Regions from separate parts of the Homo sapiens genome. Here region 2 is linked to region 1. The links are contacts of gene promoters, found by promoter capture Hi-C in blood cells and fetal thymus (Javierre and others, 2016). All regions are on one chromosome and are shown on one strand. Each heading gives the region's core, a stretch centred on a gene start or on the middle of the fragment in contact. The rest is flanking DNA. Distances are from core to core; before and after follow the strand shown. Region 1 holds the start of ARL6IP1 (ARL6 interacting reticulophagy regulator 1). Region 2 overlaps SMG1 (SMG1 nonsense mediated mRNA decay associated PI3K related kinase).

The links. Contacts are between HindIII fragments. The CHiCAGO score rates a contact against its expected background, and 5 or more counts as called.
Region 2: a contact is called between a fragment that was not itself captured here and the fragment with the promoter of ARL6IP1 in region 1, in 1 of 17 cell types (activated CD4 T cells). The highest score is 6.5, in activated CD4 T cells.

Annotation. Positions count from the first base shown.
Region 1 is chr16:18,797,962-18,804,286 of GRCh38, forward strand. It overlaps ARL6IP1 (ARL6 interacting reticulophagy regulator 1), which reads right to left and starts at 3,588. Exons shown (of 6, transcript NM_015161.3): 1 at 3,470-3,588; 2 at 740-873; 3 at 1-83. The coding sequence starts at 3,505. RefSeq lists enhancers at 3,092-3,211, 3,432-3,511, 3,892-4,131. The HindIII fragment of the contact is 8,806 bases long and covers 1-5,823 here.
Region 2 is chr16:18,834,350-18,840,241 of GRCh38, forward strand. It overlaps SMG1 (SMG1 nonsense mediated mRNA decay associated PI3K related kinase), which reads right to left. Exons shown (of 63, transcript NM_015092.5): 42 at 5,349-5,597; 43 at 4,202-4,340; 44 at 4,008-4,117; 45 at 3,665-3,883; 46 at 2,904-3,094; 47 at 2,011-2,183; 48 at 1,584-1,863; 49 at 543-815; 50 at 1-89. Among named protein-coding and RNA genes, the nearest start is that of ARL6IP1, 36 kb to the left of the region's middle. The HindIII fragment of the contact is 972 bases long and covers 2,044-3,015 here.

The DNA of each region.
Region 1 (6,325 bases), core at 2,338-4,837:
GAACAAGGTAGTCAGCCAAGCACAAAAACATAACAAAACAGGAAACGCCGGACAGAACAGATGGATCTAGATAGTAGATAATCCTGTTAAAAAAATTAATAAAGGTTAGAAAAACATAGTCATTATTATTCCTAACTAAACATGTCTAACTTAACTATTCACTTAACTATTCACCGCCTCTCAGAGATATTTGCCATTTTTCTTCTAATTTTCTCACAAGTGGCTTTCCAGAGGCTTTGTGACATGCTGATATCATAGCTGCAGTGGTTAAGTATATATCAATGGACAAAAGCTCTTTGGAGTTCTCAGCACTTTTTTAAGAGTTTAGGGAGGTGGGGGACTAGGGGAGGGATAGCATTAGGAGAAATACCTAATGTAGATGAAGGGTTGATGGGTGCAGCAAACCACCATGGCACATGTATATATACCTATGTAACAAACCTGTACATTCTACACATGTTTCCCAGAACTTAAAGTATAATAACAAAAAAAGAGTTTAAGTGTCTGGAGGACAAAAAGTTTGCGAGTCACTGATTTACTCAAGTGCTTTAGGTTACCAAGTTTACAGAAGTACTACAAATTCTGGAAACTAGAAGTGCTTATGAGAAACATTCTTTATGGGTTCTTTATGGGTTATATATTACAGAAGACTTAAGGCACTCCCACAAACAGAAGCTATATATTAAAAAGTCTTTATTAATAAGAAGCACAACCCATAGTAATCTAATAGCTCACTTACAGAAACACCAAAGAAACCACACCCATGATGGCAGGTGGAAACCAGGCTCTTTCCCATCGGAGGACTTTATCAGCCATCAGCATCACTTCTCCCCATCCTTGCAGCTGTTCTTCCAGACTTGCAGTCTCTGCAGCCTAAATACCACCGACATTTAAAGTGATCATTTTACCACTCTCAACATTTTTGTGGTTCATAGACTTCAATTATTTTAAAGCTCCAAATACAAAAAATAACCTCTTAACCAAATTGCCAATTTTAAACTAGTTGGTTTCTGAAAAACTGCAATTTCAAAGATGAAAATACAATGGGTTTTTTTGTTTTTTGTGTTTTTTTTTTTGAGACGGAGTCTCGCTCTGTCACCCAGGCTGGAGTGCAGTGGGGAGATCTCGGCTCACTGCAGCCTCCGCCTCCTGGGTTCAAGCGATTCTCCTACCTCATACTCCTGAGTAGTTGGGACTATAGGCGCCCGCCACCACGCCCGACTAATTTTTTGTAGAGACAGGGTTTCACCATGTTGGCCAGGCTGGTCTCAAACTCTGGACCTCAAGTGATCCACTCACCTCGTCTTCCCAAAGTGCTGGGATTACAGGTGTGAGCCACCAGGCCCAGCCTAAATATCCTTTAATGGTCACTTTTCTAGTCCAAGCACTGGGCTATTCTTTATATACATGATGTAACTTAATCCTTACAGAGAGCCACAAGGTAGGGATAATTAGACTCAATTTACAATTAAAGAAAGTGAGCTCAAAATGGTTTACTTTCTCAAAGTCATGCGGGGAATCGTGGCAGTGCCCAGAGTATTAATAAAATGAAATAACTTTTTTTAAGTTTGTTTATTTCAGATGGTTAGAATTGATCCGTTGTTTTTGTCATCTTATTGATTTAAACCCTTCTAAATCCATTAGGAAAGACTTTCCCTGAATAGCATTCAATTTCTAAAATAGCTCTTTGTGTAATGGAATCACTCAGATGTTGACATTCATTGGACAATTAAGGAAAACTACTTTCACCAAATTAAGGTGGCATTTTACGGTCAATATACCTCCTCAATACAGTGTTTCTTACCACTCAGGATGTCATTTTGATTATACTTCAAATTTCTCTGACTCTGAACAGCCGAAAGTGGGCCTCTAGGATGAGCTAATGTGGCAAAAGCCCTTAAAGCTGGTTTTGGTAAAGGAAGAAAAATTTAGAATAAGAAACTCAAGTGTCTCTATGTTATCAGGCTGGATGCAGTGGATCACGCCTGTAAACCCAGCACTTGGCGGGTCGGGGGGGATTGCTTGAGCCCAGGAGATCGGGACCAGCCTGGGCTGAGACCTTGTCTCTTTGTAAAAGTCATTCACTGGAAATCATGCAAATGACAGAACAAGGCACTTAATCTTAACAAAGACGCTCGCTATCTGTGCCACGCTGAGCACTAGTGTGATCTCAATATTTCTGACTTTATATTCCATGCTTAATACTAGTGAAAGAGACTACTATGTGTGGGCACTCTGCTGAGCATTCATATTTATACTTCAATTAATCTTCCTAACAACCCTTAAAAAAAGGTGTTATTACTGTCCCCATTTTACCAAGGAGGAAACAGATACAGAGGTTAACTGATCTGCATCCAAGAAATCCACGACCAAAGGCGTTGCTTTCCTTAGAGTTATATTGCTCTGCTGGAAGGAGAGTTGGGAAGCAGGAGCTCTAGCCCAGGATTTGTCATTTCAACAGGGCTTGAGCTACTTCTCTGTGCTTCAATTAATCCTCTTAAAAAGATCCACGCTGAGAACTAACTATGCTAGAAGGAGCGTGTGTTTAAAGGAACAAACCATGCATTTCTAAAAGCAAATATAAAATCACGCACAATCAAAACTGCCCTGAAGTCACGTCATTGGCCAGCGTCTGGGGTCTTGGAAGTTCAAAAGCCCCTAAGTAAATTCTTTGGTTCCGTTTTTCATTGCTGGTATGTGACCTACAGTCACCAGGGAAGGGCAACTGAGAATATGCAAGGATATTTCTCTTGTTTTTTGCCCACAAGGTGCGCTTAAATTCATAACAAATAAAAATGTGTCCGCCTATGATACCATCTCACTGCAGTTCCTTCGGATCCCTGCTTATTACTCTAAAGCTGTTTCCAGTAGTCCTGTGACCCCACCCCCGCCAGACTTCCAAATTCCAGACAAACGCCAAGACATCCCATTGTCTGTTCAGCTGGACCCCGCTCCCGGTTCCCCACGGTGAGCTCGCAGCCTCCCTGTCGTTTTAAGTTGTACCAGCTCTAAGATAAATTCTGGGCAGTAGCCCTTTGACCCTCCACCCTTGTCCAAGTTTTAGGGGGAAAAGAAGGCAGGCACATCCAGGTTAAGATCAAAGACGGGGAAAGCCGAATACGGCTGGGGCCTGAGCCGCGAAAGCGCTGGACAGGCCCCAGGAGGCCTTCTGCCCCCACCCGCACCCCAGGCTAGTGTCGCAGCCCCTCTGCCTCCCACTTCCTCCTCGACTCCTACTCGCGGTGATGAATCACGCGCCCTCCTCGCCCCGTCGCGCACCGTCCCCAGGAAAGGTAAGGGTTCGACACCCAGGAGTCACCCAAGAAGCCCGAGGGCCAGGCATCGTCGCCTGCCCAGGGAGAGAAGGGCCGGGCCCGCGGCGGGTGACAGGGACGAGGCCGCGGTGTTTGAGCCCACGGACGTCTGGAGGCCTCGCTCGGCTCCCGGGGGACAGGCAGCCAGGACTCACCAGCAGGTTGGTGCTGCGATTATCTCCCTCCGCCATCGTCTCGGGGATGCAGTCTCTACAAGCGCAGGCCACCTCCCCAACGAGTCCTCCAACCGAAACCCGCACACCAACCACAACCCGAGGGAACGCCCCGCAGGCTGCTTATATGGGTCGGCCGCCCTTCCCGACGGCCCCCGCGACGCTCGCTCCTCATTGGACAGACCGAGCTTACGCCTCAAGGAAGCCGGGCCAACCGAAGCTCAGCGCATGGCTTGAAATCGAGGTCAAAGGAGACAGAGGCAGCGCCGGGCCGAGGGGGAGGGGACACGGAGTGCCCAATCAGCGCCCAGGGACTGCGCGACGCCCCGCCCAGCGCTGTGGGAAGCGGTTCAACCGCCTCTGCAGGGGGCGCTGTCCCTCAGTGGTTCTCCGGCTCTTGCCGCTGCGGTGGCTTTGGGTCCCTCTTCGTCTGGCTTTCGCAGCCGAGGAGACTCTCTGGAAAATGGGCTACTCGAAGAGAGATGCTCCGTTGCCTCAGGCGGAGGGCGGGGACGCCGGGCCTGCGACACTTCATCTTTTCCTGGCCCCGAGGTGGCTGGGATCCGTTCCACCTTCGGCCCAGTTCCCCAGCCAGGCCCCTGAGCCGTTTAGCCCGGATTTGCGACCCGTGAGGTTTTGAGGACAAGTGAAAAGAGCTCTTTGTGTGGATTTTGCTGCAATGTTTCTCTCCTACCCAGTAGGAATGAGGCCTTAGCTTGCGCGGAAAAACCCAGGCCTGGTTTGAGAACGTGTGAAAATGCACCGCCTTCTAAGTGGCTTTATTATACGTGGATGTTTAAGTTACTTAAACTACAAGCTCCCTCTCCAAAAGGATTCTTTTTTTTTTTTTCTTTTTTTTTGAGACGGAGTCTCGCTATGTTGCCCAGCCTGGAGTGCAGTGGCGCGATCTTGCTCACTGCAAGCTCTGCCTCCCGGGTTCACGCCATTGTCCTGCCTCAGCCTTCCAAGTAGCTGGGACTACAGGCGTCCGCCAACACGCCTGGCTAATTTTTTGTATTTTTAGTAGAGACGTAGTTTCACCGTGTTAGGATGGTCTCGATCTCCTGACCTCGTGATCCGCCCGCCTCGGCCTCCCAAAGTGCTAGGATTACAGGCGTGAGCCACCGCGCCCGGCCAGAATTGTTTGTTTGTTTGTTTGAGACGAAGGAGTCTCGCGCTCCGTGGCCCCGGCTGAAGTGCAGTGGCGCGATCTCTGCTCACTGTAACCTCCATCTCCCGGGTTCAAGTGATCCTGGCGCGTCAGCCTCCCGAGTAGCTGGAATTACAGACGCCCGTCACTACGCCCGGCTAATTTTTGTATTTTAATAGAGACGGGGTTTCGCTATTTTGGCCAGGGTGGTCTGGACCTCCTGACCTCAAGATATCCGCCCGCCTTAGCCTGCCAAAGTGCTGGGATTACAGGCGTGAGCTACCGCGCCCGGCCAAAAGGATAGTTCTTGACACGACCTTTCTTCCATTAGAGGTCAAGCTAAGAAAATATGTAAACCCTCTCACAAGCAGTAGAATTCCTAGGCAGTTTAGGAACTGTGTTGAGGCACTTGTACATCTTTTCTATCCAGGATTTCAAATGCAGTAACAAGTGCTTTGATCTTTTTTTTTTTTTTTTTTTTTTTTTTTTCTTTTTTTCTTGAGACACAGCCTGGCTCTGTTGCCCAGGCTGTAGTGCAGTAGCCACCGCGCCCGGCCGATTTTTCATCGTTTGATACAAACAGAATCATGCCAAATGTCCGGATCAGATGTTTGTTTCAGGTGAATTAACTATAGTTTTAACTTCCAACCTTTTATCTTTTTTACAGGTTTTAACTTCCAATCTCATGGTCATTTGTATTCGGCCATTGAATTTAAATTTATTTTTAAAATGTTCCTTAAGTAACCACCAGGTTCTTAAATGTTCAAGGAAGTCATAAATGTGAGAGAACATAGCTGCAGACCACATACTGCCCCTAAGAGAGCTGGGCAAGGGCAGGAGCATTGTGAATTTCATGGAAGGGTGTCAATTTGCTGTGGGTCTTTCGGGGAAAGGGGAGTGAAGTATCTGAATCAGGGAGAAGCACTTGAAAAAAAGTCTTTGCAAGGGAAGCTGACTGTTCAATAAAGTGCCACTTTGGAGAATGTTGGGGTAAAGAAGTTGTAAAGGCAGGATACAGCCAGTTGACAGAGACGCTATTTGGAGAGATTTTAAAGCTATGGAGTCTGAGGAGCAGGTTCTTCTCCACGCCCCTAAAAAAAAAAAAATACAAATGGGGAGGCAGGGAAGATCCCTTGAGCCCAGGAAATAGAGGCTGCAGTGAGCTATGATTGCACCTATGCACTTAAGCTTGGGTGACAGAGCAAAAAACCTGTCTCAAAAAAAAAAAAAAAAAAAAAAGTCAAAAAGATCGAAGCAATCAGCAGCCACATAATTAGTGAATATGTTGAGCACTGGGTATGTGATCTTGCTAGACCCACAGTAATAGCCACTTCCAAAAGAGAGGGTATTTTATTAGGGTTTAAAACTGACATTTCTACTTTTGGGAAATCAGCTTTTGCTGCAGAATATGCTTCTTGTTTTCACCCAAGTTTTCCATGCACAACTTAAGACTTGTTAACACCAGCTTGTGAAATGAAGGTAGGTGAAAAAAACAGAAGCAACTGAAACAGCAGTTTCTCCACTTAGTATTTTTTGTTACTTAACAATGTATTCCCATACCTATTTCTAAATGCACAGCCCTGCTATATGGTCTCTCACTAAATTTCCGATTGGTCTAATTATTAAAAAACACCCACCCTTAACATAGCTTTCTTTAGAGCTTTGTTTTTGTCCTACAGAGACAGGAT
Region 2 (5,892 bases), core at 1,280-3,779, 35 kb after region 1:
CCTCCAAGAACCAGGCTCCATCCCGAGAAGTCAGATCAACCAGCTGTTCTCCAGCACTTGACGCTGCACCTTCCATCATCAGGTTACGCCTACAAGAGATAAATATCTGTACAGTGAAACTTAAATGTATAAACAAAACAAGGTAACTGGCCGGGTCAAGGCCATGCCTGTAATTCCAGCATTTTGGGAGGCCGAGGCAGGTAGATGACTTCAGGCCAGGAGTTCGAGACCAGCCTGATCAATATGGCAAAACCCCATCTCTACCAAAAAATACAAAAATTAGCCAGGTGTGGTGGCACACACCTGTAGTCCCAGCTATTAAGGAGGCTGAGGTTGCTGTGAGCCGAGATCGTGCCACTGCACTCCAGCCTCAGTGTCAAGAGTGAGACCCTGTCTCAAAACACAACCAAGATAACTAAAATCTGAAAAGCAAGTAAGCAGCTGTAACACTTGGCAAGACTAAGGAAAGTAAAAGAACATTTTAGGTTTGGGATTAAAAATAAGACACAGGAAATGGTCCAATATGAAGTTGGCTAACTTACCTTGTAAGGGTACAAAGGGCAGAAATAATAACACTTGCTAGACTCAAAGATCCTTCTTCTCCATTCTCATGAAGGAAAACTTTAATGCAACGTTCAATTTCTTTCAACTGATCTTCACAAACTGGCACAGTGACAGCTTCCTGTTTCAAGCGTTCCACTTGTCTAATAAGTCTGCTGTTGATGTCTGCTGCGTATCGCTGCAGGGTCATTTCAGTGGCAGTGATGAACTGACACACTGTTGGGGGTGGCTGGGGAGCATATTGCATTTCATATCTATAAAAATAAGGAAGAGGTGCTTGTTTATAACACAACCACCCCCAACATACAAAAGAATATTGCATTTAATCCTCAAACAAAACTTGAAGAGTAGAAATCATTATTTACATTTTACAGATAAAAATGTCTCAAGAGCTTAAGCAATTTCCTAAAAGGACTTGTTGATGACTGTGACAGAATCAACATTTGAGGCCAGGCACCACGGCTCATACCTGTAATCCTAGCACTTTGGGAGGCCAAGGCAGGAGGATCGCTTGAGCTCAGGAGTTCGAGACCAGCCTGGGCAACACGGCGAAACTCCATCTCTACAAAAAAATATAAAAATTGTTCAGGCGTGGTGACACACGCCCGTGGTCCCAGCTACTTGGGAGGCTGAAGTGGGAGGATCACCTGAGCCCAGGGAGGTCAAGGCTGCAGAATACAACTTTGCTTCCACTCCCAATAAGAAATACAATTGGCCAGGCGCAGTGGCTCACGCCTGTAATCCCAGAAATTTGGGAGGCCCAGGCAGGCAGATCACGTGGTCAGGAGTTCAAGACCAGCCTGGCCAATATAGTGAAACCCCGTCTGTACTAAAAAGACAAAAATTAGCCGGGCTTGGTGGTGTTGTAGTCCCAGCTACTCTGGAGGCTGAGGCAGAGGAATTGCTTGAACCTCAGAGACGGAGGTTGCAGTGAGCCAAGATCATGCCACCACACTCCAGCCTGGGTGACAGAACAAGACTCCGTCTCAAAAATAAAAGAAAATTAAGCACTATCAACTTACTTCCTATAGAGCTCTTGACAACGCTCTACTGTGGTGTTACAGATGAGCTCTTCCATCCAGGTCTTCCACTGTTCAATTCGATGTTTCTGAAATATGGCCTTCGGATACTGCAGGGCCACGGTTGCATAGTGATGCAGTTGCTCCAGACAGCCACGGAGCACGGAGCGCCTCTGCTGCAGGAGAGCACCAACCTCCCCCTCCAGCTGCTCGCACTGGCTAATCAAGTGGGCCTGACCAGCATTCTGCAGAAAGGCTGTTGCTGGCACGTAACTTGGAGGACCTTTTGGTAAAAGACATTATTAAACACAGTAAAACAGGGTCAAGTCAGCTGTCACTAAAAGCAAGCACAAACCAGGACCCCACACAAACACACATGACTATAAAACTCATAGTTTCACATGTGAATCTAAAATAAGTCAACCCATACCAAGGTCCATTTGTGTGCTTATCTCTTGAAGCAAGCTTGCAAGCTGTGTTGCTTCTAAATTATTGAATGCAGCCTGATAATGTGTTATCCATTGTTCAAATTCATTCAGCTTCACCTGGATTGCTTCCTGAACAGCTCTTTGCTGAGTCTGTAGTTGGGTGTGCTCAGAATACCTAATCAGGGGGACACAAACAAAATCAAAAGATTTATTGCTGTTTTCTTCCACATACTTTCCTACCCTGGAATGTGCTCACACATGGACTGTCTGGTACGCTCCTTGTTCACCTTGAGGGCCCTCCTCAAATGTCCCTTACTTCTCTGTTTTTCCTGACCCTGTGATTCCCTCAACCATGCTCATGACATTTTAATTAAAACTGCCACATCTGCCAAGTTTTAGGTTCCTTGAAGGTTAGAGACTGATGCTTGACAGATCTTTGTAATCTGAGAGCCTCACACAATGCTTGACACTTTCATATTCAACTACCCTTTTACTGAGCACCTGCTGTGTATAAGGTTCTTTCAGTTAATCATCTTATTTAATACTTAGTGAGGTAGATGAAGTAGCTGCCATTGTACAAATGAGTAAGGACTCAAGATACATAATGGTAATGAGAAAACCAAAACCCAGATTTTCTGATTCCAAGTTTTGTGTTCTAACCACTACACCCACCTATCTCCCATAATTAGTCATTCAAACATTTAAGTTAAATATAATAAAAGCAGACAATTTCAGTGAATTTTTGTTTACTAACACTTTGAAGTTGCAGTCACTGAGACAGCTTTTATCATTTATGTGATTTGTTACAATAATTCTAATCCATATTGATGTTTACATGAATATGAAAATTCTAATTAATGGCACATATTTAGAAGAATTCAACACTGTTTTAAACCTGTGTTGCAGAGTATGAGAAGGATGATCCACCCCTTCAGCTCCTTCTAGAAACTCTATTTCCTCCAGTAGTTTGCCCTGCAGTTTTTCCACATCTGTCAGTTGCTCTTGCAAGCTTAGGTATTCATCTAAGCTACCGTCCAACTTGGGAAGCACAACCAGCATCTCATCTCTATTCTTAAACCAGTTCACCTGTAAAAAGATATTACGATTAAGAAGACTCTTACAGGGCCAATTTTGAGACACAACAGTGTCAGAAGAACATTTTGCACATCCTACTTAAATCTCTACAAAACCCGAAAGGGGTGATGCGTTGCCTCCACTGTACAAAAACAACTAATGCGTTCAAGTTTACACAGGCATAAACTGACAGGCTCAATCTCATAATACCATGTATTAATAGTTGCCAATGTCACCCAGAACAAGACTGGCATCCCTGGCTACCAGATAGGGAAGGGAAGCTATCCAATTAAAGAACATTTACAGTCATCACTGGTAAACACATTTCAATAATTAAGAAATATAATTTTTTCAAATCATGAACCCACCTCTTAGGAGTGTGGAATGTAACTGTGCATGTTTGTGTGGAAGAATTACCTAATAAAAAGTTAACATCAAACTGCCATATTTAACTGCCATTTCAATATTATACATTAGTTTTGCCAAAAAAATTAGAGAAACAATTTGCCTCAACATTTTGATGAGCATGTTTACTCTATTAATAAAAAGAAGACAATGACTTATTCCGTCACTGGGCTTCACCTTAATCTCAGCTACTCTAGAAGAAAACAGGCTGCGGGTGATCTCTCGCTCCATCTCTCTCTTGCTCTGCTTGCTCTCGGCCTGCTGGCCACCTCCACCATAGACAGCACCAGCAAACCCAGCCTCGCCTCCTGCTGTCCAGTCCACCAGAGGGTCGTACACAAAGGCCTCCAGCAGCGTCAGCAGGGTCTCTCTGCCACGCCGCATAATGTGTAAAACCTGTTTTCAGGAGAGTTTTTAAAATAAGGTCTGCCACAAGTTTCATCACTAAAGTGTGGTTTTCATTCCACAGGTTTTGCTCATTTAACAAATACACTAAAAGGGAGAAGAGAAAACAGCATACCTGCTCACATGAAAGCCTAAATACACCTTCTACTCCAGTTACACCCAGTGCTGTTTCAATGTTTTGTGTCATTCGAAAAGGTACTTTCTCAGGAACTCTAAGGCTTTTACCTTGAAAAGACAAATCATTATATTTTTGCCCTTTCACCAAAAAACATTTGGCCCTCATAAATGTAAAGTCTACTTTTATATTACCTTTTTCAAAGCAAACATTGTAATCTATGTGAACAACTTCTCCAGTCGTCATATCTATAAGAACATTATCCAGATGTCTGTCTCCAAGGCCAATTATGTATCCAACCATAGACATGACTGCAGTAGATCTTGCATAAGACTAAAGGAAAGGAAATGGGGGCAGCAAGTGAAACACCATTAAGAAATTTCCCTCCAACATGGACGTGATACTATAAAATTTACAAAGCACCATTAACCTACTCCCTTATTTTAAAATAAATCAACAAATAAAAAGCATTCCTCAAGGTTGCTGCATGTGGTTATGCAGGCATACAACACTGTAGACCTGATTGGTCCTAGTTAATCAGCTATCAGGATGCTGGATTAAAAAAAACACAAACAAACAAACTTTTCTTCAGTCTTCCTAGTTTGTCCCTTTCTAAATTTTTTATTCTTTTTTTTGTTTTGTTTTGTTTGTATTTTTGGTTGAAACGGGGTTCAGTGTTGCCCAAACCAATGTTGGGCAGGCTGGTCTCAAACTCCCGACCTCAGATGATCCACCCACCACAGCTTCCAAAAGTGCTGGGATTACAGATGTGAGCCACTGTGCCTGACCTCTTTCTTTTTTTAAATTTAAATATTGATTTTATTTAAAAAAATTTTTTTCCTTCTAACTTTTAGGTTTAGAGGGACATGTGTAGGTCTTTACGTGAGTAAATTGTATGTCACTGGGGTTTGATGTACACATTATTCTGTCACCCAGGTAATGAACATAGTATCCAACAGGTATTTTTTCCTACCTCACCCTCCTCCTGCCCCCCACCCTCAAGTAGGCCCCAGTGTCTGTTGTTCCCTTCTTTGTGTCCATGTGTGCTCAATGTTTAGCTCCCACTTATAAGTGAGAACATGCGGTATTCAGTTTTCTGTTCCTGTGTTAATTTGCTTAGGATCTCCTTTTCATTTCCTCCATAACTCTTTCCCCATCCTGCCCTCGGACACAGTCATGTTCATGCCTTTATAACTGTAATATTAAACTCAAATATACGTCTCAAACTACCAAGTCTGGAGGGACAGAGGAAGGAAGGGAAGGAGGACAAACAAGATAGGCAAGAAGGTAGCAGGCAAAAGAAATACTACTACTGAGTATAGTCTAAAACAAAGCACATACCTGCGTAACTCTCCACCATTCATCAGGTGTTGTGCAAGATGACCAGAGCTCTTTGGCAAGGAGATTCGGGGGTGTGGCCTCCATTAACTCTTCCAATACTGCCTTCATTACATGAAGAGGCCAATCCCGACGGGACACATCCAGGCTAAGCCCAACTGTTTTCAAAGCAGGGCCAATTTTACTGTAATAAAGTTCACTAGGACGGGGTACAATTCCAGGATTCTGAGGAGTTTGGTAGGAATCTTGGGCCTTAAGAAAAAACAATTTTTTTAAAAAAGAAAAGATCAATTTTATATAAGGAAAAAGAGTGCCTTTTGTATGTAAAGTAGAATTTTTAAAAATGATTTTTCAGTAGCATTCTCTCATTACTCAACTAAATTTCATGTATTAATACAAAATAGCTAATTATTCTGGACTATGGATCTTTCTTATGATATATACCTTTTAATTAGGCCCATTCACTTTATTGAAAAATTGGTCTACTGTTTAATTTTCTTGAGGTTCAATTCAAAACTAAACACTCAAGTTACTTTCTTCTTTATAA